7 separate regions of the Homo sapiens genome follow, and regions 2, 3, 4, 5, 6 and 7 are each linked to region 1. The links are contacts of gene promoters, found by promoter capture Hi-C in blood cells and fetal thymus (Javierre and others, 2016). All regions are on one chromosome and are shown on one strand. The core of a region is centred on a gene start or on the middle of the fragment in contact, and the rest is flanking DNA. Distances in the headings are between cores, read along the strand shown.

Region 1 (3,593 bases), core at 322-2,821:
CCAAGTTTTTCCACATAAATCAATTTCAAGTTTGGTGTTGCTGATGGATCGCTGCTTTTAAACCAAAAAAAAAAAAAAAAAAGGATAAAGAGCAGAAATGTAACAGCTGAGAATGGTTACATTTAAAAACAAGGAGAATTTGCCTGACAACAGTACCCTTATTGGAACAAGTAATCACTTATGTAAGATTATTTAGATAAATTTGAAAACAAACAAAAAAAAGAAACAACACAACCTTGTAACACACATTTGAAGGTAGTTTGCTTTTTTCGCTTTGAAAGCGATCAGTTTAGAGAGATGAATGACTAATCCCAGAAATGAGTATCTGAGCATTTCCCTGCGGATGGTCGGTGCTAACATTTACTGTGCTGCGCTACTACTCAGAATTTTAATAAAGCTTAACGTGGAGATTTATCTCTCTGATTGGTGGTGGTGTGGGCAGGCAGATAACGCACAGGCGCTTCCATTGTATGGAACAAATATAATCTCTTACTGGCGAATTAAAATAAATTACTCCTGTCTCCAAAGGGGACTGCTCATTTCTTTACTTTCTAAATAACTAGCGCGTCAACTACTGTTTTAGGCTACCCTGAAATTGTGTACAGGCTAACATAAAAGGTCTCCTGCCGTAAAAAATAAAATAGGATAACACACACGCAACCCAAACACACACAAGCAAACACTCAGTTACCTCTTCATTCAAATGCTGTAGGAACGAGAAAATAAAGGCAGCCCAGCGCAACCAGATCTCATTTCCGACAGGTTCCCCACGCTCTCCTCGCACGACCGAGGGGTCCCCAGCCCGGGCCCTGGACGCGGCGAGCAGGTGACCATGGCACCCCGCGCCCCGCAGGTTCCCGCGGTGCCGCAGCCTTCAGGTGTCTTGGGCGCCCCAGATCCTCCGGGCCCGGCGCCGCTCCAGGAAGTCACCCTCAAAGCCGGGGCGCCAGGCCACCTCGGACACGCTCTCCTGTGCCCCCACTCCCGTTCGCGAAATCATGTTCGCCGGGACATCCACTGGGCAGGACCCCCTACCAGGCCTGCGTTTCCTTTTAAAAACAAAAGCGAGCGAAACAAGCCAGCGCGCCCTGGCCGCGCCCGCCGCTAGGCGACCCCGAAGACAGCGGCCCTAGCACGCAGGAACCCCCCGGCCGACCCCGCCAGCCCCGGAGGCCACTCCATAACCGGAAAACGAGCCGGCGCGGAACTCAGACGCGCGCCCCTAGAGTCCTCGCAGCAGCCGCCACCCCCACCTGCACCCCCGGCAGCGCCCCGAGATCTGCGTGTCAGTGCCCCCCGCGACCCCCGCCCAGGCCCCGGGTGACCCTCCATGGGACTGGAGCCGCGCGCCGGGCGCTCTCTGCGGGCCCAGCTCTTACCCTGCCGCTGCGGGCAGGGCCGGCGCTTGGTCGGGACGGTGGCTGCTCGGCGCCCGCGGCTGCTCGGTGCGCGCCGGGCGAGGGCGAGGGCGCCGGCCAGAGACGATCAGGGAGGCCGGACGCTGGCCGGGCGGCTCCGGGAGCTCTGAGCTGGAGCGACACCGCACTCGTCAGTCTCTGGAGGAAGTAACCGGGCCGTCCCCCACGCGGCGCGCTCTTCAGGAGCGGGAGGAGGAGGGAGGAGGGAGGAGGAAGGAGGGACGGCCGAGTGGAGGGGAGGGGAGGAAACGAGGGAGGAGAGAAGAGAGAGGGGAGGGAAGGGGAGGAGAGAGAAGAGGAGGGGAAGGGAGGTAGGCAGGATGGGGAGAAGCGGGAGGAGAGGGAAGGGGGCAGCAGGAGGGTTGGGGGAGCGGAGGGAGAGGAGAGGGAACGCACGAGGGGAGAGAAGAGGAGGGCGGAGGCGGCGAGGGAGCGCGGGGCGGGGCTGACACCTTCCGGCCCAACCTTCCCTCCGCCTCCTGCTGTCACTCGGCTGGGTCCCTCGCCGGCTGGCCCTGAGGCCCCGGGAGCAGGGCCTCGGCCCCACGTGCGCGCGAGTGTGCGCCCTGGGAGCCGGGCGGAGACTTTCCGTGGAGCGCTCGGCGTCCTCTCTGGGGCCAAGGCCCTAACGCCAAACCTGCCTTTGGAATTCCGCAGCGACGGAGCAGTGGTGCTGGTGGCACCGAAGGGCAGCCGGGCTTGGGTAATAAGGCCCTGAAATTGAGCCGACCCCATTCTTGAACCTCTGAATGGGCTTAGGACTAATGATCATTCTATCACAAAAAGGCTCCAAATGAGGCGCTTCCTGTAGAAACCGGGCCCTGGCTGTGTCCCCGAGTCGTGGTGCTGATCGCGCTGCTCCCGGGAAGCCCCGATCCCGCAGGCTCCGCGGGAGTGGCGCCCTCTGGAGCTGAGCGGTGCCCAGATAGCGACCCGCCTTGGCCGCGCTTCAATCTGGGCTGGGCACTCCACGCACATCATCGTCACTCTCGGAGGACTTGCGGCTCCCACTTTACACAGGTGGGAACTGAACCTTAGGATGAATAACCTGCCACGTCAGATTGATGAGAAATTCAAGGTGGAAACCTGAGTTTATCTGACTCCGAAACCCTGGTCAAAACCACCCCCTACACTGTGGTTTCCGTTTTTATCAGAAGGTGCTTGAGTCCATGGCTGTTTGGACTCAGGTCACATGCTCAATATTTTGCAGGAAAGTTTAGATTCCTGAAGTTGTGGATGAAATAGGAAACCCCAGCTTAGGCGAGGCCACGGGGCTGAAAGCTGCTCACATCTCAAGAACTGCGGCACCACCGGGAAGGGAGAGGAATGGCCCAGCTTCTCTGTGACTCAGGGTTCTAGGTTTCCATGGTGACTCTAGGTCTAGAGTTATCCGGATAATTGAGATATCGGTGCACCTTAATGTTTCTGGGTCCCCGAAGGTCTCCGGGTATCACCGTGGCATGAGTCACAGTCAGAATCTATACGGCTGAAACAATCACGTATAGGGGAAGTGATTATTTCTTGGAGACTGAATTGATTCTGATGGCTTCTCAGTGTATATTCAGGCCCAGATTAGAGAACACAGATAGGTCAAGAAAGAGTTCCATAAATGGAATACAGATCCATAGTAAGTTACCATGGAGACATGAGTATGTTACTATTTTTTTAAAAAACCGTAGCAGAAAATACTGACTCATCTGGGCTGCAGTTTCAGCTAATATAGGGTCTTTCTCCCTCAGGCTACTTGCACAGCCCTGAGAAGCTGGGTATAGACAGCTGCTCCCCAAAGCTCAGCTACTTCCCGAAGCTCACTTGCCCCAAGCAGACTGCCTTGTCCCACCATGCCTGCCCTCGTGTTCATGGGTGCTGAGTGCCAGGTGCTCCAGGGCTCCCTGAGTCGCTGATGGGCTCCCTGAGTGGAGCCATATTTCCTCTTTGCAGGGCTGGCACAGGCTGGGGGCTAGGAGGTGGTGCTTTGCTCATGCTGGGCTGTTTCCAACATATATGAGCAGAAAGATATCAAAAGAGGAGCACAGGAGTTTGAAGACCACCGGTTCCCGACAGTGGAACCTTCCTCTGCTCACTAACCTTGGGCCTCCTCTACAGAATAAGGGATGATTATGGAACCTACGTCCTTAAGACTATGGCAAATGACATAGAACCAAATGTGCAGAA
Region 2 (3,593 bases), core at 689-3,188, 430 kb before region 1:
AACCACCCTAAAATTTAGGTGTTTACATGGCAAACGTTGCATATTTCATGTATTGGTTGATCAGGAACTGGGAGCTGATTTGACTGGGTGATTTTGGCTCATGAGGTTACAACATGTTGACTGGGGCTGCAGTCATCTGAGGACTTGATGAGGGTTGGATGATATTCTTTCCGAGCTTATTCATATGGCTTTTGGCCTCAGTTCCTTGCCACACAGGTCTCTCCTTAGCTGGCTGCTTGAGTGTTGATTTTCAACTCAAGCTGGCTGCTTGAGTTATGATTTTCCTCAGAGTGAATGATTTAACAGTAGCCAGGGATAAGCCCCCATTTATGACCTAGTCTTAGAAGTTGCACATAGTCTCATCGGCTTTATTATATTTGGTAGAAGTGAGTCATTAAGTGTAGTCCACACTTAAGAGGAGGAGACTTCCACTTCTTGAAAAGGAGAGAACTATTGGGGAATTTGTAGGCATATTTTGAAATCACCGGTCTTACAACCTAAAATCAAGAGGAGACTCCTTGTGATGATTAGCCTGTGGCCAAACTCAGAGTGGAGTCTTGGCAGAACAGGCTATGGGTAAAAGAGGATTTAGGCTGGGTATTAGCCCCCTAAAATGGGATGTAAAATAGCATGAAGAATCTATCAGAAATTTAGGAGATGATGCTAGGAAAATGTTAGGTAGATTTACAATGCTTTTTTAAGTGATATATTCCTGTGTAAAGGAACTAAATATATATGCTGTGTGAAAACTAATCATTAGATGGACATGGCAAAAATAGTCATTCTGAATGGTGAAAGTTTCTTTTATTTTTCATTCAGACAGTGCATGCTGCCCCTTTCTAATCTAAGAAACTTTGTTCTCTTCCCCTTGGTAGAATTTGCGGAGGATGACTCCAGCAGAGCTTGCAAATATGGAGCATTTATATGAATTTCACCCTCCAGTTTGGATTACTGACACCACACTTAGAAAATCTCCTTTTGTTCCTCAAATGGGTGATGAGGTGAGAGTAATACAAATTTAAAAACACGAATATGGAACATAAAGTTTATATTGCTCTTAATTTTTAAATGCATATTTCCCTTTTGTAGGTAATATATTTTCGACAGGGTCATGAAGCTTATATTGAGGCTGTAAGAAGAAATAATATTTATGAACTGAACCCTAATAAGGAGCCATGGAGAAAAATGGATCTTAGGGTAGGATGATGGCATTATTAAATCATTAAACATTTTAGCACATACATAGTTAAATTACTTACAAATCTATTTAAAAACCTGTTGGAAACATATTTTATTACTTTCTTTCCTACTTGATAACATTTCTGCTGTAACCAAACCTTAAGATCCTGTGGGAATGGCTTGTTTGTCAGTGGGCAAAATTTGTATGTTGCTGATTGGTGTGTAAAATGTTAAATGCAACAACCTAGAGTTTCAGAAAGGCAGCTTGGCAATATATATATTATCACTCTTAAAAATGTTTATGTATCCAAGACAGATTTTCAGAGGAAGAAATGCAAGTTTTCAAAAGAAGAAATAAAAACTGGAAGAAGGGTTTAACCTCATGGATAATAAAATAAGGAAATAATAATTTTTCCTTTTCAATACTTAGCCAATTTTGTGATTTCGTTTGTTTTTAGCTCAAGAAAGAATTCCACATTTTAGCAAGTGGCAAAGATGTTGGTTTGTTAACAGTTATTCAGATTGCTGGTGGGGTGTGTGAAGTGGTCCAGGCTTTCTAGGGGATATTTTGTTAATAGTAGTTGAAACTGAAAAATATTTGGAACTTTTAATTCTGTGATTTTACTCTTCTGGTAATTTGGAAAACAAGCAGAAATGCTTGTAAATATATGAGTATTGTAGTTCACTCACTGTTGACAGAAACAAAGCTGGAAAAAAAAAATTCAGATATTCCACAATAGTGAATGAACCAAATCATGGTGCATTCACACAGTCACTTACTATGTACAGCCCATCTTGTACTTGAAGGTTGAAAAATATTTGTTGAATGAATGATGGATACATTTTCACAGTGTATTACTAATAGGAAAAATGGGGTGTGAAGTGGTATTTCTGGTTATGGTAGCAAAATTTTGAAAACATTTGCAGCCAATCAAAAGAACAACATCAAAATGTCAATGGTGATGATCTGTGGGGTAGTAGTACACGTGTTTTTTTATTTTTTATATTTTTATTCTACAGATTTTGATACTTTTAAAAACTTAGAAAATGAAGAAAATGCTAGTTATTTTAACAAATATAGCTGTTTTTAACACTTATATTCAACTTAATGGCTCTGCTTGTATAAGTTAGGCTTTATATACATTGGCGGTTTTATTTATGTCTGTTTAACTTAGGACTGTGTACCTAAGTACAGTCCATCCTCATTATTCTTGGATTCTGTATTTGTGAACTGCGTACTTGCTTTATTTGTAATCCCCCAAACAGTACTCTCAGAGCCTTTTGGTCATTTCTGGACATGCTCAGGGTGGTGAAAAATTTGACTTGCCTGACGAGCATGTTTCTAGTTGAGGTTGAACAAGGTGTTGCTCTGCCTTTTTTTTTTTTTAAGCTCTCGCACTGCAAACAAGTGTCCTTTTCATGGTCTATTCAGTGCCACATGTTTTCCATTTTTGTGCTTTTTCTGGTGACTTTGCTGTTTAAAATGGCCCCTAAGCGTAGTGCTGACATGCTCTCTAGTGTTCTTAAGTGCTAGAAGGCTGAGATGTGCCTTATGGAGAAGGTATGTTAGATAAGCTTCATTCAGGTATCAGTTAAATGTTTGCAAATCAACAACATATTAAATAAGGTACCTTTAAACGGAAACACGCATAAAACCAAGTTACGTATGCACTGGTTTACTACAGTGTTGTGACCAGAATTTTGCAGGAACCTATCCCTATATATTCTCTATAGCACTGATTTAGTATTTTATTTCAGTGTTCTAGGTGACTATAGAACATAACTGCTGTGAATAATGAAAACTATGCTTAGCACTTTGTTTGGTACATTATAATAATAACATTTGTTCAGTGAATAAGTGGATGAATGATCTGTTGTATTCCTAGTATCAGAGAAGCAGACACTGGGGGGAAGGTTGACTATGGCAAATCCATTTGATGGATACTCCATCCAGGTAGGGACTTTCACTTGTTTACCGTCCTGTCCCTACTGCCTAGAAGAGGTCATAGCATATGGTAGATTCTCAACAAATATTACTTACTGAATGTATTAGGCAGAAACTTAATATCAAGATTTTGAAGAACACTTATGAATAAGTAGAATGCTTACACATTTTCACTGTATAATATAAAGCTATATAAATAAAAATGTGCATTGACTGGGTGTGGCAGGCCACACCTATAATCCCAGCACTTTGGGAAGCTGTTGTGGGAGCATCACTTGAGCCCAGGAGTTCGAGACTAGTCTGGACAACATAGGGAGACCTGTCTCTACAAATAATAAAAAATTAGCTTGGTGTGGTGGCATGTTGTACCTGTAGTCAGTCCCAGGTACTCGGGAAGCTGATGTGGGAGGATTGATTGAGCTCAGGAGTTTGAGATTGCAGTGAGCCATGATTGTGCTACTGCCCTCCA
Region 3 (3,593 bases), core at 460-2,959, 430 kb after region 1:
GTCTTGACAGATTGAACAATTTGCCCAGCTCTGCAGCGTAAGAGGTGCAACAAATGCTTGTTCCAGGGCTAGTTAATTCCAAAAGCTTTTTCTTAATCTTAAGCTATTTTGCCTCATATGGACAGAAAATTAAACGGGAAGGTGACATGACTGCCCAATCTTAGGTTGCATTTTCTGAAACAGGTCACAAACGAGGACTTATTTGTTATACATTAGACTGCAACATCAATTCTGGGCCTACACTTAAAGAGGGACATAGGACAGTTAGTGCAGGTTCAGTGGGGAGAGACAAGGGGAATGAGAGAACCCAGGACCATGTCAAGTAGGGGCTGTCAGTGTCTCTGCTGAAAGTGGGATTACCCTTATCACCCATTGATTCAGGACCCAGCACAGTGCCTAGCAATATCAAGCTGTTGGAAAACGTTTGCAGCTATATGCATGAATGAACATCCAGAAAGGTAACATCTGGACTAAAGGTGGGCTCAGCAGGGATGCCCATTGGCCAAATTCAAGAGAAAGCTTTTTAGAAGTTGGAGGAGGTCCAGATGGAATGGTCAGCCTTTGTCCAGGAGTTCCTGGATATGAGGTGTGCTTATTTAACAACCATGCAACTATTTGCCAGGTGTTTGGCAGCACATGGACTACATGGCTATTTAGGTCTTCTTCGGTCCAGTGCAACTTGGGTTCTGTGAAATATTAAGTGTTGTCCATACATAGAAAGTCAGGGGTGAGAGTCTGAAATCAGTGATGGCTTAGTGGCCTCACTCTTGATCAGTGCCAGTTTGTCCTAAGAGTCAGCAGTACATTAGGGCTTTAGACATTACAGAGACAGTGGAATCACCCCAAATTGAATTATGTTGTGGCTCTGTGTCTCTAAATTGATTGGAGTCCAGTCTGCTTGGAGATTAAAATACATCCTATTTTCTCAGCACTGCAGGGCCCAGGTGAATGGTGAGAAGCAGCCAACTGATGGGATAAATGAACTTTGCTTTCATGTTTTCTCACTTATGAGGAAGACCACCCCCTACAGCACACTTGCATAAAAACATGTCCTGAGGGTGGTTGGTCACAGCCTGCTCAGCATTAGACATGCATCAGCTGAAAGAGTGTCAGTCTGCCTCAGGGGCCCTCAATCCCACTCCAGACTAACAATTTCCACCTCCAAGTCGTCGTGGGATGCCAGGAGCCAGGGCTGATCTCCATTTGCACTCATGAGGTTGAGGCTAAGGAAGGGGTGGGGTGTAGACAAAATATACAAGAAAGAATTTGGTGTAGAAGTCACGAACCATTCTGTAAAGTCTCTTAACTGGAAAGCCAGGATGTATCAAGATGTTAACAACTTTTTATTTTAAGTAAGTTCTCTTATTAATTTTTGGTTTTTCTACTCGGCAAGAATATAACTGAAACTTGTTTGAAAGGTTTGGAGGTGGGTGGATGTGTAACTTGCCCAACCTTTTTAAATTAAGGGTGAAGAGAAAGGAAAAGGCTAGCTGTCCTCTTCTTTTCTATGGCATCAGGGCAATGGTTTCTAAGCTGTCTCATCAGAATTGGCAGCAGGCTGCTGGCAGGAGGCGGAGGCTGGCATTCCAGTTCTAAGTAATTCCAGATATTAAGCTTTCAGGTCCAAAGAGGAGCCTCCCAATGGATATCATTTTCTCCTTTAAACAATAATACTAATTGCTACTACTTTTGATAATAATAATAGCTTAGTGCCAAACAATGTGCATACACTATCTTTTTCATTTAACTTGCACAATACCGCTTTGAGATAGTTTTATCCATATTTTACAGATGTGAAGCTTTGAGAGGTTAAACTATGTTATAAATCACTCTAAGTCACAGAAAAATCTTACAGCTTTCAGGACTTGAAATTGGAATGGCCTTCCTAAGCCATCGCTTGGACAGTCTTCAGGGCATGTCAAATGGAGTGCCCTCCCCTTATCTAGCTATGCTGGGCAGAAGCCCGGTTGTTGGTAGTTATCAGACAGGAAGCAAAGCGCAGCCCTCCCATTTCCTTGCTGCGCCCTTTGGTTTTAGGGCGGGAGTGCTGCTTGCTGGGGACGCAGGCGGACTCCAGGCCGCTTTGATGGAGAACACAGGATACGTGCTGCAGGTGCTCTTCTGGACGGAGTCCCAGCTGCTGGGCCATAACCTGGTGGAGGCGAGTGGGGCTGGGCCCCATGGCTGTGAAGAGACCCACCATACAGCGGCCTCAGGATTTTCTGTCTCCATCCGCTCTGATGCTTAGGGTCAGAGGAAAGGCCCTCTCAAGTCCGGCAGGGCCTGCCTCCAGGAGAATAAATGGCTGTTCCTTTCTTCCATCTTTGCAACCAACTCGGGAGTCAGGTGGATGAAAATGGAAACGTCCCTTTCCTAGTAGGAAGAACATGGGTTAAGCCTGCAGTGGGCAGACCAGCACTTCCACCCTTTCACTGATGTGGTTGGGAAGGTGCAGGACAGGAAGCGACTCCCATTGGACAGAGACCAGAACCGGTTTCCATCAGGGTAGGACCCGCCTCTTCCTGTGAAAGAGAGCGGAAGTGGTGGGAGAGAGCGAGAGTAACAACTGAGTGTCCGTCCCATGGAAACATGCATAGCGAGAAACGAACAACAGGCCCAGATTCACATCCGACAATTCCACAGTTCTCTTTAGAAGAAACCCCTCCCCTCATCATATTTTCTAACCTGAGACCCTGGGCCTGTCTGTGCCTCTGTGCATTCACACTAATGTGACATAGGGCATTTTAAAGTGGAACTATGCAATGGTCACTGGATTTTAAACCAACACTGTCAGGTCCATGTTCACTAAGCCACCCTACCCCAATTAAAAAGAAAATACTAACAGAGGGTCTATAGCTTTCATTCAAGGAAGGCTGAGTACTTGTTAAGATCATAGGATGGGCAACCACAATAGGATGAGCAAACAAACAAATGATTATTCATATGATGCTAGGAAGTTAATTAAGGCAGGAAGAAACTAGATAGAAGGGGTAAGACAGTTGGAAGGAGGCTGAATTGTTAAGTTAGTGTGTGATGTCCAGTTGTGTTGGGGGTGCAGGAGGATAATGAGCAAGACAGTGGGACTATGACTACCCGGGGCCCACAACAGACCAGAGATGCCTATAAAAGGACCCTGTGACTCCTGTGGAGTGTTATACACACCAAGTAAACAAGTGATGCGCAATCAAGCCAAATGAACCCAGGCTATAGAACGTTCAGCTTCAGTTGAGTGAACACTATGTTTTGAGGTCTGTTTACAGGTTGTGATTTCACCAAAGTGTTTCCTTTTCTCAATCCAGTTCTTCAATCCAATTCTCAGTTTTTGTTCCACGGTGTGTCGGGCTCTGTGGGAATGGTTTTTGGAAATAAGGTTACTGTATTATTAGCATCCAAGATAAAATCAGTGGGGAGCAAGAATGTCTGCTCTCATTTACTTAACAAGCATTTGCTAAGAATCTTTGATGTCACAATGATGTAAGAGGTACAGAAAGGTGTTAGGGAGTTCTTGCCCTTGGAGAGATTATAATCTAGAAAGGGAAAATGTACATAAAAATCTCTAATGCAAGACAAGACATGCATGCACCTATCGTGGT
Region 4 (3,593 bases), core at 507-3,006, 410 kb after region 1:
AGGTCCTTGGGGATACAGACCCAAATCCCTGTCTCCTCCACTCTTGGTTTGCTGTGCCATGATCTTCATTTCCATACCCTTTGTCTAATCCCACATCCGAGGGAACCGAACTCTGGTCAGCGTTATTGTGCTGACCATGAAGCAAGCCAGGCTCCTAGGTAACAACTCTACTTAGACCAGAATCTGTCTCTTCTCTGCATGGTGGCCGTTTCATTATAGAGTCCCTGATAGAGGAGACAGTGGTGTTCAGGGTTTACTGGTTAAATTAGACAGCATTCCGCACCCTTTCTGCAGAGACTCCTACACATGTGTGTTGTCCTGCTGCATCCACCTTCCCAGCACTTCCTCACCACCCTTCCCTCCTTCCCTTCCCACTGTGAGTCACCCATCCCTGGGTTACTGCCCCAACCTACCTTTTCTTTTCTTTTATCTTCTTTTCTCTTCTTTTTTTTTTTTTTTTTTTTTTGAGATGGAGTCTCACTCTGTTGCCAGGCTGAAGTGCAGTGGTGCAATCTCGGCTCACCACAACCTCTGCCTCCCGAGTTCAAGTGATTCTTCTGCCTCAGCCTCCCGAGTAGCTGGGGCTACAGGCGCATGCCATCATGCCCAGCTAATTTTTGTATTTTTAGTAGAGATAGGGTTTCACCATATTGGTCAGGATGGTCTTGATCTCTTGACCTCGTGATCCGCCCACCTCTGCCTCCCAAAGTGCTGGGATTACAGGCGTGAACCACCATGCCCAGCCCCCAATCTACCTTTTCTTCTGTTCATGGCCCACCTTCCCAAGTGGATCATTTATTCCAGAGCCCCCTGACTGCTTCCCTGTCAGGTCAGTCTCGCTGCTGCTGTGTCAGTTCAGTCTCCCTGCACAATTGGCCGAGGCCGTTCACTGACCTCACAGGGGACCACATGTGAACATGCCCTGCCACCACCACTACCTGCCATTTGTCCAAACCTCATCCCTTTTCCTTGCATGCCCGTACCTAGTATTTTCCCACGTTTTCCTGATTCAAGATTTACCTTCTTTCACAACCCCTTTGTTGAATTAGCATTGAGACAGTCTTCTCTACTCTCATAAAGTATCAACCCATAGGCATATCATTTTACATTCTGTGGTTTTATGATTTTTTAAATATATATATATTTTATTATACTTTATTTTATGATGTTTCACGTGTTTCTCACGTTGTTGCAGTTACTACGACCAGAATCCCTTTCTGTACCTCCTCTACAAACACCCTTCTTTTTTGCTGAATCCACTTCTTTTGGAGCCATAGCCCTTTGAGGTCTCAGGGGAAAAAGTGGCAAAAACAGATCCACAGAATCTTGCAAGCCCCTATTAACTACACAGTGCACCACCCTGCCTGTCCTCTTAGGAGCAGGTCATGCAAAAGCTCAGTTCTATCCCAAGGATGATGTTCTGCAACCCCATCCTTTCCTCTTCCATCCCCATGACAACCCATATATTATGATATGCCTCTGGGGTGTTATCAAAAGAGATTAGAGAGTTAAGCCTGCAAATGCAGCCTTTGCTTCTACTTTGAAGCTGCTGCTCTTCAGGGGTTTCTTGGAATCTTAAATTATTCCTCCATTGGAGCTCACAGCCTAGTGCTTTTCAGCACAGCTAGGCATAGTGAGACAATACAACTACTGCATAGCATCTCTCAGTTAGGTGTTATGTAAAGCCTGTATCTTAGCAAATGGCTAAAATTGCATTCTTTGCTTCCGCTTAGTTCTTATATAACCACAGGGATATGCAAACCTAGGCAAGAAGGGAATGCAAAATGTTTCCAAAACTCCATGCTCAAACTTTGATGTAGAATTTTAAGAAGATCTGGAGGAAAATAGAGAGCAACTTAATTATGTTAAGGTTGACTCAAACTTTTTTTTTCATTTCACAGACACTTCTAGATTGGTTCTTAGCAGCAGCTCTTGCTCTTCCTAATTTGTGTTCCCCATTAGCATCTAATTTCAAGAGCAGGCAAATCTCATCTGTTCCCATCCAGCCCAGCCAGGGAACCTCCAGAGTTGCTTTGCAGATATGGTGTGGATCCTGCAGAATGAGGATGAGCTCTTCCACGATCCACATTCTTGCCCTTTAAAAAATAAAGCGGGTAGGCAGCGGGGTGGCGGTGTGGGGTGTGTGGGGCAAGAGCTAGAGCGTTCCTCCTCAGTGAGTTTGATGAAGGGAGAATGTAAAACTTGGCTGAACTTAGCCCTCCAGGAAAGGGTAGCCAGAATGTTGTATTAATTTAGTGATGTCTTCAAAAGGGTGTGGTGGAGGAGGAGTCTCATTCAGAATGAGAAGCTGATCCCAGCTCCCAGGAAATCGACACAGTTGCTGGTGTGTAGTGGTCAGCACTAGCCGAGTCCCTATTTGTAGCTTCATGCTGTTTTTTATACTGTTGTGATGTAATGTACATCTGTGTTCACCCAAGCTGCCTATGCAATGACTTCTATAAAGCTCAGTTTTTAAACACAGTCTCTTACAGATAAAACAACAGAACCAGTGCCAGAAAGCAGCCTTCCCTTACATGGGCACTTCTGCCAAGCATATGAGTTCATTGCCTTGAAGATCAAAGTCAAAGAGAAATGGAGAGGGTGTTGAAATGATCAGCGAAAATTAAATGTAAAATATATTCTTATTGGAAGTCTGATGCTCTATTATCAATAAAGGACACATAGCAAAGATACATAGAGGAGTGATTTTTCAAGCAGTCAAGAGCAGAACTACGAAGGTTTTGAGATGGTGTAGCTGCCAAAGAAGTCACCCCTGGCTGTCCCCCATCTCAGTGAGCCTGAGTTGAATGTTTCCCAATGTCATATCCCACAGGGGGATACTTAGTGCCCACAGCATGTGATCGGTAGCCGATAAGGAAGCATTGGACCAGAATGTCATGGAAGAAAACAAAAGCCCACTTATCTTCCGCGGCAATATGTTTATGAACATGTGAATCATTGTTCATATAACTGTCTCAAATACTTGGCTGAAAAGTAGACTGTTTGGTGTTAAGTTTCGACTTATTTTCGAGGGAGGATGGGATATGGTTATACACCATATGAAGGATTTTGTGAATAAAGAGTTTCAAAATATTTTGGGAATAGTAGTTCGGCATTTATTTTTTTTCCCAGTCACATTTCATGAGCAACAATTTTATGTTTAAGGTAGTATCTGACTAACCTACTGATGCTGTCTATTCATTCCATTAGCATACTTATGCCATGGGTAAAAGCAATCCATCTAGAACTCTTTCAACCATTTTTTAGTTTGTCTTTGCACACTCTAGATAGCATTTCTGAAATCATCTGCAGGAACAGAGTTCCTGAAAAGAGCAATGGTCTAGAGCAGGCTTTCTCAGACTTCAGTGTGCACCAGAGTCACCCAGGATCTTGTTAAAATGCTGATTCTGAGGCCAGGCGCGGTGGCTCACGCCTGTAATCCCAGCACTTTAGGAGGCTGAGGCGGGCGGATCACGGGGTCAGGAGAGCGAGACCATCCTGGCTAACAGCATGAGACCCTGTCTCTACTAAAAATACGAAAAATTAGCCAGGCATGGTGGCAGGCACCTGTAGTCCCAGCTACTCAGGAGGCT
Region 5 (3,593 bases), core at 640-3,139, 400 kb before region 1:
TTAGTGTTTTATAGTAGGTTGGGTTTCTTTCTTTCTTTTTTTTTTTTTGTCATTTTGTAAACTTAAGAATTTTTGTTAATTGACTTCTTTAACTCTTTGGGGCATGCAGTTTCAGTAGAAGGTTACTAAAGTTTTGTTAACATGTTACACATTGGGTAACTTTTCAAAACTTGATGAGGCCTGTAATCCCTGGAATTTGGGAGGCCAAGGTAGGCAGATCACTTGAGGTCAGGAGTTCGAGACCAGCCTGGTCAACATGGTGAGCCCCCTTCTCTACTAGAGATAAAAAAATTAGCCCGTGTTGGCGCTTGCCTGTAATCCCACCTATAGGCACGAGGCATGAGAACCGCTTGAAATGAGGCATGAGAGCCACTTGAACCTGGGAGGCAGAGGTTGCAGTGAGCTGAGATCATGCCACTGCACTCTAGCCTGGGCAACAGAGCAAGACTCCAGGTAGCTCATGTGTTGAATAATTGTAAAAAGTCATATTTAAAGTAAAATACTTGTTTGATCTTACAACATTTTTTGGTGTCTACAATCAGTGACATTTAACTGTTTTGCTTTAACTGCATTTCCCTGTCATTACTTAATATTAGACTCCTCCTGCATTACTGCCTCTGGTCTCAATTTGAGAACTCTTTCTTGGATTCAGGATCCACACTGCTTGCTGGATCAGTTTAACGTTCAAGGCTAACGTTTCCAAGCTTGGATTTTTGTCAAAGTCACCATTTGTAAGACTGTTTTTTTTCAGCGACAAAATAAATTTCATTCAAGTCTTCCCTGCGCCCCTCAAATACATGTTTGAGGACACATACCATACAGTTCACCATTGAAAGCTTATAGTTCAGTGGTTTTTGGTATAGTACATTGTCAGTTGTTCAAAACTATGGTTAACTATATATAACATAACATTTGCCATTTTAGCCATTTTTATGAGTACAATTCAGTGGCATCGTTTATAATCTTTCTAAAACCTTTTCATCATTCCACACAGAAGCTCTGTAACCATCAAGCAGTAATTTCCCCTCACCCCCAGTCCTTGGAAACCTCTAACTTTCGGTGTCTGAATTTGCCTGTCCTAGATAATTTCATATAAAAATTGAGATCTTACCATATTTGTCCTTTGTGTCCAGCTTATTTATTTCACTTAGTGTAATGCCTTAAAGGCTTATGCATGTTGTAGCATGTATCAGAACTTTATTCCATTTTATGGCTGAATAATATTAAAGTGTGTGGTTATACCATATCTTATTCATTCATCTATCGATGGCCAGCTCGGCTGTTTCTATTTCTTGACCATTACGAGTAATGCTGCAGCAAATTTTGGAATACACGTATCTCTCAGAAACCCTGCTCAATTCCCTTGGGTATAGACCTAAGAGTAGAATTGCTGGGTCATGGGATAATTCATGTTTACCTTTTCCAGGAACCACTACACTGTTTTCCATATTGGCTGCACCTTTTTACATTCCCGCTGGCAGTGTATAAAAGCCACAGTTTGTTCACATCCTTGCCAACACTTGTTGTTTTTGGAGTTTTGTTTGTGTGTGTGTGTGTGTGTGTGTGTGTGTGTGTTTTCTTTTTTTTCTTTTTTTTTTTTGAGCCTGTCTCACTCTGTTGCCCAGGCTGGAGAGCAGTGGTGAGATCTTGGCTCACTGCAACCTCCAACTCCTGAGCAATTTGCCTGCTTCAGCCTCCCGGGTAGCTGGGACTACAGGCTTGCGCCACCATGCCCGGCTAATTATTGTATTTTTAGTAGAGATGGGGTTTCACCATATTGGCCAAGCTAGTCTTGAACCCTTGACCTCAAGTGATCTGCCTGCCTCGGCCTCCCAAAGTACTGGGATTATAGGCATGAGCCACTGTGCCTGGCAGAATAAAATTTATATATATGAAATACTGAAAATAACTGTCAAAGATCATTTCAGATTAAGTATAACAAATTTCACATTCATTTGTGAGCATATATATATGTATATGAGAAGCATGTAAGAAATTCGTATATCTCACATACTTTTTAAAAAAGTTTTCTGGTATTGGAGTGTCTTCGCCATCCACTGCCATGCACAAGAATTATATTTAAGTTTTGAGCATTAGACTTTTGCACTTATTTTCAGGAAAAGTCGTGGAGGAGGATAGAGTAGTTCTGTACATACATAGCTGTATCCAAAAGTATTTAAGATTTGATGTTATTTAATTGTAAACATTGTTAAAACAAATCTTTCATATGCATTAACGTTCTAGGTTATACTTTCTGCTACTGGATGCAAGGTATTTTTGTTTCATTTTTAGAATTAGGTGGCATTGAAAACAGATTGCAGACAGAGATGGGTATATAAAAGTGCTTTTGTTCCCTTGCCCCAAAGAAAGACAGCGCTTTTGTAGCCTAAATAGCAGCCTTAAAACCATTCAACTTCCCATCTAACTTTGGGAGAAGGGTATATTTTGGGGTTTGTACATACAGATGTTAGAATAGGCAAAAACAGTTGAGATTCACTGACATATAGACACAAGTCCTGAATATAGATGCTTGACTTCAAACTACTTTCTTATCATCTGAGAGGTATGTATTTGATACTTCTTACTTCCAGATGTCATTAAGGGAAGGGGGTTGGAAACAGAAGAAGTGGGTGACAGCCATTACCTATAAGCAGTGATATAATACATTGCAAGGGATCTCAATGATTACAATTATTTCTTAAGTACTTTTAAGGCTATTTTGTAATTCTACTTTGTTTTTATATCCTTGCAGATTTATAGTATGACCTTGAGATTATCTGCCTTATTTGAAGAAAAAATGAAGAAAATCTCTTCTGATTTTAAAATTGGTCAAAAATTCAATGAAAAACTTCGAAGAAGCCAGAGGTTCAAGCAACGGCAAAATTGTAAAGGTGACAGTCAGCCTAACAAAAGTATCAGGTAAACTGGTTATGGCAAGCTTGCTTTATTTATTTATTTAATTTTGGAGAGAGTCTCACTGTGTCACCCAGGCTGGAGTGCAGTGGCATGATCTCTGCCTCCCGGGTTCAAGTGATTTTCCTGCCTCAGCCTCCCAAGTAGCTGGGACTACAGGCGCACACCATCACATCTGGCTAATTTTTGTATGTTTAGAAGAGACAGGGTTTCACCATGTTGGCCACGCTGGTCTCGAACTCCTGACCGCAGGTGATCCACCCACCTTGGCCTCCCACAATGTTGGGATTACAGGTGTGAGCCACCACGCCCAGCCTATTTATTTATTTTTTATTTATTTTTGGAGACGGAGTCTCTCTCTGTTACCTAGGTTGGAGTGCAGTGGCATGATCTTGGCTGACTGCAACCTCTGCCTCCCGGGTCAAGCAGTTCTCCTGCCTCAGCCTCCTGAGTAGTTGGGACTACAGGTACATGCTGCCATGCCTGGCTAATTTTTTGTATTTTAGTAGAGACAGGGTTTCACCGTGTTGCCCAGGCTGGTCTCGAACTCCTGAGCTCAGGCAATCCGCCTGCCTCAGCCTCCTAAAGTGCTAGGATTGCAGGTGTGAGCCACCGCGCTCAGCCCTATTTATTTTTTAAGACAGGGTTTCACTATGTTGCCCAGGCTGGGGTCTAGTGAT
Region 6 (3,593 bases), core at 819-3,318, 380 kb before region 1:
CTAGATTAGTTGTAGTTCCAGAATAAGAACAAAAATTCAGAGTTGTGTGGTGCCCATCATTGAGTAAATGAACCCTAAAAATGAATAAGCTAATGAACTAGTTCATGGAATTATTTCTGATGGTCTTTTGACCTGATGCTGCCATACTGCAGTGTTACCAGCTCCCCCTAGAAAACGGAACTGTTTAAAAACACAGCAAGTTACAGAAACCATTTTATTCTACAGCCATTGGGGTACTTCAGTTTATGGGATGTTTTTGGAAACTTCTGCTTTGGGAGGGATGAAGATCATTGATAAATGTTATTTGCTTTCTGAGTTTTGGGGTCATTTCATTGCTTATCAATGAAGGGCAGACAGAGGAGAGAATATCTCAAGTCTTTTCTGATAAAAGGCTTGCTTGAGGGAGCTTATAACTTGCACCTAGAGGGTTTACCCACTTTGTGGATTTGATTTATCCACCAACCACAGCAACCAATAATGTCAAGATTCTAGGAGTTTATGAAAGAGGCTAGTATGTTTTCATTTTGAGTCAGACATTCTTTTCTCATTCTCAAATCTGTTTTAAATGCTCCAATTTTAAAAATGCCAATGAAAATTTTATAATGCTTCTGTAGTAACCATATGCAGTTTACTTTGAATTTAGGAAAACAGTTTTGTATGATGAAATATTGTGCAGAATCTGTAAATAAGGTAGCTTAAAAATTAAAAAAAAGTCTAATTAGAATATGATTAATCCTTGAAATGTAGAAACTAGAGATTGTGTTGAGTCAGAACTGTTATGTTTGTATCCAGGTTTCTATTCACCACATATACCATCTTAGAATACACACATATCTGTGAGTTATAATTTAAAGTGGTCATCCAGGGAAATGATCATGGAGTGCTACTACAGATGTACAGTTTTACACTACTGATGTGTTCTTGCCATACCCAAGTAGGGAATCACTTCCAGGAAAACAAGTCCTCAAGCACTCAATGACTTTGTAAACCCATGACTGAAACAAGACTCATCTGAGGCAGTAGGACTGGTGGGATTCTACTGACTTCTTAGTATCACATGGCACCATCACAAATGCATTGTTAGAGCAGCAACATCCAGAGTTCTTAAGCTTGTACCCTAACACACAAATTTGACTTCTAACCCTGAAATATCCTATATATATTTCTAAAACTGTTTGTAGTTTTCTTGAGAAAAAGCACTTTATAATTTACTCAGTTTTCAGTAATAAAATTAACACTGACTTGAATGTATTTAAAAAAATTCTCCACAGTTTTGTCTTCCTCAGATTGTTTTTATCCTTATTCTCTGAAATTCCTGTTTTATTGTCTAAGACTTAAGAGATTCAGCTTTATCAAGTTAGAGTACAGTGTAATTCAAATTCTCCCTCCCTTGGGCATAGTTACTGAAGTTCAAATTTCCTTAAGTATTTTTTAAAAACCTGATTTTAGTTTTTTTTTTCCTGCAGAATCTTAACTTTTCCATTATTCTGGATGACAAATAAACATTTATTAAAATGTGTTAGAATTAGTATTTACTAGGTTCCTAAATTGTCAGTATAGGTACTTTGATCACACATCAAAATGGAATTTCTGCAACTTAAAGCATTTTGTTACAAATTGTAGTTGAAATAGAATTTTATCTATTTGTCTGGATGAATAGGTTGTTGGGAATGAACCAGTTATCTGTTCTTTTCTTCCAAATGCAAATGGTGCAGCTAGTTGATAATAGTATATTCTCATCCTACTATAAAGTGCAAATTTCACCTTAATTTTGCATATTTTAAAATTTTTGTTTACCCTTTGTAGCATATTTACATTTTAGCATTTGCTAACATTGATTTAATGTGTTAAAGATTCATTTTGGATATAGGGTTGACTTGTTGGAGATACTAGTTCATAATTTTAAAATTCCCAAGAGAAGTGTCTTTGAAGTGGTAAACACAGTGCACTTTAAGCCACTTCTCTTCCCACAGAGTCCAGCTGAAGGAGGTAAGGGCATGCTGCATGAGAGTAATGCCGTGATGAGTGTCTTACTCTGGTAAAATGCCATTTACAATGCCTGGAGACTGAACACTGAACAAAACATAGTGCCCTTAGAATTTCACTGGAAAAACATGTGAATCACATAAGTTAGTTGGCAAAAGGAACTGATGTGTATGTGGTGGGGTTGCTTTGAATAAAGTATTTCCTAACCTATTCTGGGGAGAACGCTCAACTGATCTTAGAGAAGTGTGAAATCAGTTTCATAGACTTAGGGAAAAATCTGAAGTGCTTGCACTGTGAGGGCAGAGGCCTGCCTCATTAGTCTAGCTGTATGAACATGTCAGTCCACAGAAGCAGTTTTTACCTGTACTCATCTGCCCTTCAGTCAGCTTTGTGACAGAAGGGCAAACATCTTCACAGAAGAAAAAGTTCAGAAGGTTGGCATTGGTGGTTTCATTGCTACAGAATAATAGTGTTACTTGATAGTATCTGACTAAAAGAGCTCTCATTTTCTAGTACTTAGTAGTAAAAAGAATGTGGTGGAGTCCTCCAGATGTCTAGTGTGGGTGGAGGATATCAACTGGTTATTTCAGTGATCTACAGCCTTACCTTTTGAATGCTAAATGTCTGGAAACTTCAGGCAGGGTCCTACAAAACAAACTGCCATCAAGATTGGTGTGTACCATGAAGGCAGTTTTAGATAGTTTGACTGTTCATGGCTGCAAGAAAGACCTAAAATTCAAGGGCCCGTGAACTTCAGATACGTAAAAGGAATATCACTTCTGTTCTAGAAGAGTACTAATTAGACTTGTTTGTGAAATTTGAAAATTTGGCTTTGAGACACTGGTAACAAACATATCTGAGCCCTCCTAAGTTTGGTCAGCACGGAGTAGTAGCTCTGGCATCATGTGGCTGTGTAGAGCTCCAGTGTGATTTCAAGCCCCCTCTAAAAACTGCCTTAGTCTGCATGAAGTAGTTAACTCTCCAAAGTGCTTTTTGTCTGGCAAATCCCTTCACAATTTTCACCTCTCGTCTAAAAGCTTCCTTAAAGGAAGCCTTCCTTGATCCCTTAGGCTAGGTTAGGTTTCCAGTCTGTGTTCTCATAGCACTCTGCACTTTTTGGTTCCTTAAAGCAACTCTGTGTTATTTTTTAGAATTTTAATCTGAATCTCGTGTGTCACATACCTAGGTCAGAAAATACTGGAACAATGAAGTTAAGATTTAGTAATTCAAATTATGTAAAATGCTCATATATATGTTTTTAGATTAGCAGCTTTATGATGCCGATGCTGAAGGAACTTTTCACCCCATTCTTACAAGTCTGCTACTGTTTTAAGTGACATCCTTATAGTTGTAGATAAGCAAATGTAAGGTTATATCAATGTGAAGAAGCCCTTAGTATCACATTTTAAAATTTATCATTTAGCAATATGACTTTTAAATTTATTGTTTCCGAATGAGTGTTGTTGAGGAATGTTAGCAGTAGTAAAATCTTGTGTTACAAGATTTTTGCATTTACATGAACTTTCACTCATTTTTCAGAATTTGTTCCTAGAGACAGAGAACCCAATACAAAAGTGAGAACATGTATGCATAATCAGAAGGATGCA
Region 7 (3,593 bases), core at 368-2,867, 360 kb before region 1:
CAGAGAGACAGGATTTCATTATGTTGTCCAGGCTGGTCTTAAACTCCTGAGCTGAAGCGATCCACCTACCTCAGCCTTTCGAAGTGCCGGTATTACAGGCATGAACCACTGTGACCAGCACTCCCTGTTTTTGTTTTTTGGCTTATGAATTTTTCTGTTTATTATGAAAATGTAAGAGTGAGATGTTAATACATTTCAATTTAGTTCTGTAATATCAGGAATTTTTCAAAAAATTAAAAGGTGCATTGGAGCTTTTTCTTTGTGGGTAGAAACTGGATGCCACAGTGAACAACAAAAAAAGGATGCGAAGATTAATTTATTATTGGAGAGCAAATTTTTAAAAAATAAATTTAGTGTAGCCTGTGTACAGTGTTGATAAAGTCTACCGTAGTGGACAGTAATAACCTAGGCCTTCACGTTCGCTCACTGACTCACCCTGAGTGACTTCTAGTCCTGCAAGCTGCATTTATGGTAAGTGCCCTATATAGGTGTGCCGGTTTTTGTCTTTTATACCTTATGTTTACTGTATCTTTTTAATGATAAGATATGTTTAAATATGCAAATATTCACCATTGTGTTACAGTTGCCTACAATATTCAGTACAGTAACATGCTGTACATGTTTATAGACTAGGTGTGTAGTAGGCTATAGAATCTAGGTTTGTGTAAGTACACTATGATGTTTATGCAATGACAGACTCATCTAGCGATACATTTTTCAGGCTGGTAAGCAAAACATGATTGTATATCTATATAGATACCAGGGAAATTGGCTTACTTGATTATGGAGGCTGAAAAGTCCCACAACAGGCTCTCTGCAAGCTGGAGACCCTGGGATGCTGGTAGTATGGCCCAGTGCAAGTCCAGAAGCCTCAGAACCAGGGAAGCTGATGGTGTAAGTCTCAATCCTAGGCCAAAGGCCTGAGGGCCTGGGGTAATTGGGGAGGGGCACTGGTGTCAGTCTTGGAGTCCAAAGGCTGGAGAGCCTGGAGTTGTGATGTCCTGTTCAAGGGCAGAAGAAGGGTGACCCAGCTCCAGGAGAGAGAGAGAATTCACCATTTCTTCATCTTTTTCTACCTGGGCCCCCAGTGGATGGATGGTTCCTGCTGACATTGAGGGAGAATCTTCCCACTCACTCCACAGACTCATGCTAAACTCTTCTCAAAACACCTTCACACAGACACCCAGAAATCATGCTTTACCAACTCTCTATGCATCCCTTTGTCAACATGGTACTAAACTCAAGCAGGAATGGCTGTACTTACATAAAACAGACTTTATGCCAGAAGCAGTAAACAGTTATTATATAATAGTAAAGAGATCAATCTAATGAGGAAATAACAACTAAATATATGCACCCAACACTAGACCACCCGGATTTATAAAGCAAATATTTCTAGATTTAAAAAGAGAGGTAGACTCCAACACGATAATTGTTGGGGACTTCACCTCAGTCTCAGATCATGATCATCTAGACAAAATTAACAAAAACTCATTGGATTTAAACTAGACTTTAGACCAAATGGATCTAACAGATATTTGTAGAACATGTTACTCAACAACTGCTGAGTACACATTTTTCTCATCAGCACATGGAACATTCTCCAGGATAGACCATATGTTAGGACAAAAAACAAGTCTTGACAAATTTTTAAAAATTGAAATCATATGAAGTATCTTCTCAGACCACAATGGAGTAAAAATAGAAATAAGAGGAACTTTGGAAACTATACAAATACATGGGAATTAAATAATATGCTCCTCCTGAATGATAAAAATTAATATGGAAATAAAATGTTTGAAACAAATGAAAATAGAAACAACATACCAAGACCTATGGGACACAACAAAAGGAGCTCTAGGAGGGGAGAGTGTATAGCAATAAACACCTACATCAAATGAGTAGATAGATATCAAAGAAACAATTCAATGATGCACCTCAAGGAACTAGAAAAGAACAAACCAAACCCAAAATTAGAAGGAAAGACATAGTAAAGTTCAGAGCAAATCTAAATGAAATAAAGACTAAAGACGTAGAAAGGGTCAATGAAACAAAAAGTTGGTTCTTCAAAAAGATAAAATAGATAAACCCCTTGCTAGACTAAACAAGAAAAGACCCAAATAAAATAGGAAATGAAAAAGACATTACAACTGATATCACAGAAATACAAAAGATCATCAGAGACTATTATGAATAGCTATATACTACCAAACTAGAAAACCTAGAGGAAATGGATAAATTGCTGGAAACATACAACTACTGAGATTCCAGAAGAAATAGAAAATCTGAACAGATCAGTAATGAGCAGTGTGATTAACTCAGTAATGAGAACCCTCCCAAAAAAAGAAAAGCTCATGACTGAATGAATTCACTGCCAATTTGACCAACCACATAAAGAAGAACTAATACCCATTCTCCTCAAACTCTTGCAAAAAAATCAAAGAAAAAACAACTCATTCTACAAGACCACCATTTCCCTGACACCAAACTAGACAAGGACACACACACAAAAAGAGAACTACAGGCCAGTGTTTCTAAGGAACCTAGACATAAAAATTCTCAAAAAGAACAAAACAAAAAGCTAGCAAACAATTCGACAGGATGCCAAAAAGATAATACACCATGACCAAGTATAATTTATACCAAGGACACAAGGATGGTTTAACATACACAAATCAATAAACATGATACATCACAACAGTAGAAGGAATGACAAAAACCATATGATTATCTCAACAGATGCAGAAAAAACATTTGATAAAATTCTACATCCTTTTATGATAAAAAGCTGTCAACAAACCAGGTACAGAAGAAACATATCTTAACATAATAAAGGCTATATATGACCCACAGCTAACATCATACTGAGTGGGGAAAAACTGAAAGTATTTCCTCTAAGAACTAGAGCAAGACAAGGAAGGATGCTCACTTTTACCACTTTTATTCAGTATAGTACTGGAGGTAGAGCCAGAGCAATCAGGCAAGAGAAAGGAATAAAAGGCATACAGATTTTTAAGAGGAAGTCAAATTGTCCCCGTTTGCAGATGACATCGTCTTACATTTAGAGAAACCAGAAGACTCTACAAGCAAAGCAAAATACACACTTAAAGCTGATAAGCAAATTTGGTAATGTTGCAGGATAGAAAATGAACATACAAAAATAGGGTTTCTATGCACCAAAAATGAACTAGCTGAGAAAGAAGGCAGTCCCATTTACAGTAGCTACAAAAAAATACCTAGGAATTAATTTAACCAAGGAGGTGAAAGGCCTGTAGAAGGGAGATTATGAAACACCAATGAAAGAAATTGAAGAGGACACAAACAAGTGGGAAGACGTCTCATACTCATAGATTAGAAGAATTAATATTGTTAAAATGACCATGTTGTCCAGGACAATATACAGATCCAGTGCAATTCCTATCAAAATACTAATGCCATTTTTCACAGAAATACAAAAATCCTGAAATTTGTATGTAACCAAAAAGCCAGAGTATGCACAGCAATCCTGAGCAAAAAGAACAAAGCTGGAGGCATCACACTACCTGACTTCAAAATATATTACAAGGCTATGGTAATCAAAACAGCATGATATT

What was found. Contacts are between HindIII fragments. The CHiCAGO score rates a contact against its expected background, and 5 or more counts as called.
Region 2: a fragment that was not itself captured here is called in contact with the fragment with the promoter of ETS2 in region 1 in 1 of 17 cell types (naive CD4 T cells); the score reaches 5.0 in naive CD4 T cells.
Region 3: a contact is called between a fragment that was not itself captured here and the fragment with the promoter of ETS2 in region 1, in 1 of 17 cell types (megakaryocytes). The highest score is 9.5, in megakaryocytes.
Region 4: a contact is called between a fragment that was not itself captured here and the fragment with the promoter of ETS2 in region 1, in 1 of 17 cell types (megakaryocytes). The highest score is 6.4, in megakaryocytes.
Region 5: a contact is called between a fragment that was not itself captured here and the fragment with the promoter of ETS2 in region 1, in 4 of 17 cell types (naive CD8 T cells, total CD8 T cells, activated CD4 T cells and 1 more). The highest score is 6.8, in naive CD8 T cells.
Region 6: a contact is called between a fragment that was not itself captured here and the fragment with the promoter of ETS2 in region 1, in 5 of 17 cell types (activated CD4 T cells, non-activated CD4 T cells, naive CD4 T cells and 2 more). The highest score is 7.9, in activated CD4 T cells.
Region 7: a contact is called between a fragment that was not itself captured here and the fragment with the promoter of ETS2 in region 1, in 16 of 17 cell types (M1 macrophages, M2 macrophages, megakaryocytes and 13 more). The highest score is 13.0, in M1 macrophages.

What each region holds. Positions count from the first base shown.
Region 1 is chr21:38,803,907-38,807,499 of GRCh38, reverse strand. It overlaps ETS2 (ETS proto-oncogene 2, transcription factor), which reads right to left and starts at 1,571. Exons shown (of 10, transcript NM_005239.6): 1 at 1,380-1,571. RefSeq lists silencers at 849-948, 969-1,068, 1,179-1,468, 1,659-1,728, 1,749-2,078 and enhancers at 2,189-2,348, 2,359-2,418, 2,599-2,738, 2,272-2,772. The HindIII fragment of the contact is 4,522 bases long and covers 400-3,593 here.
Region 2 is chr21:39,229,781-39,233,373 of GRCh38, reverse strand. BRWD1 (bromodomain and WD repeat domain containing 1) reads left to right here. Exons shown (of 41, transcript NM_033656.4): 24 at 876-1,001; 25 at 1,090-1,197. Among named protein-coding and RNA genes, the nearest start is that of PSMG1, 48 kb to the right of the region's middle. The HindIII fragment of the contact is 1,637 bases long and covers 1,120-2,756 here.
Region 3 is chr21:38,375,329-38,378,921 of GRCh38, reverse strand. It overlaps a transcript of ERG not described here. Among named protein-coding and RNA genes, the nearest start is that of LINC01423, 31 kb to the right of the region's middle. The HindIII fragment of the contact is 185 bases long and covers 1,617-1,801 here.
Region 4 is chr21:38,394,470-38,398,062 of GRCh38, reverse strand. The region is part of intron 6 of ERG (ETS transcription factor ERG); the gene reads left to right. Among named protein-coding and RNA genes, the nearest start is that of LINC01423, 50 kb to the right of the region's middle. The HindIII fragment of the contact is 5,452 bases long and covers 1-3,593 here.
Region 5 is chr21:39,205,434-39,209,026 of GRCh38, reverse strand. It overlaps BRWD1 (bromodomain and WD repeat domain containing 1), which reads left to right. Exons shown (of 41, transcript NM_033656.4): 37 at 2,753-2,919. Among named protein-coding and RNA genes, the nearest start is that of PSMG1, 24 kb to the right of the region's middle. The HindIII fragment of the contact is 2,102 bases long and covers 839-2,940 here.
Region 6 is chr21:39,187,350-39,190,942 of GRCh38, reverse strand. It overlaps BRWD1 (bromodomain and WD repeat domain containing 1), which reads left to right. Exons shown (of 41, transcript NM_033656.4): 41 at 1-3,593. Among named protein-coding and RNA genes, the nearest start is that of PSMG1, 5.7 kb to the right of the region's middle. RefSeq lists an enhancer at 2,039-2,088. The HindIII fragment of the contact is 1,914 bases long and covers 1,112-3,025 here.
Region 7 is chr21:39,166,978-39,170,570 of GRCh38, reverse strand. It overlaps the pseudogene PCBP2P1. Among named protein-coding and RNA genes, the nearest start is that of PSMG1, 15 kb to the left of the region's middle. The HindIII fragment of the contact is 7,118 bases long and covers 1-3,593 here.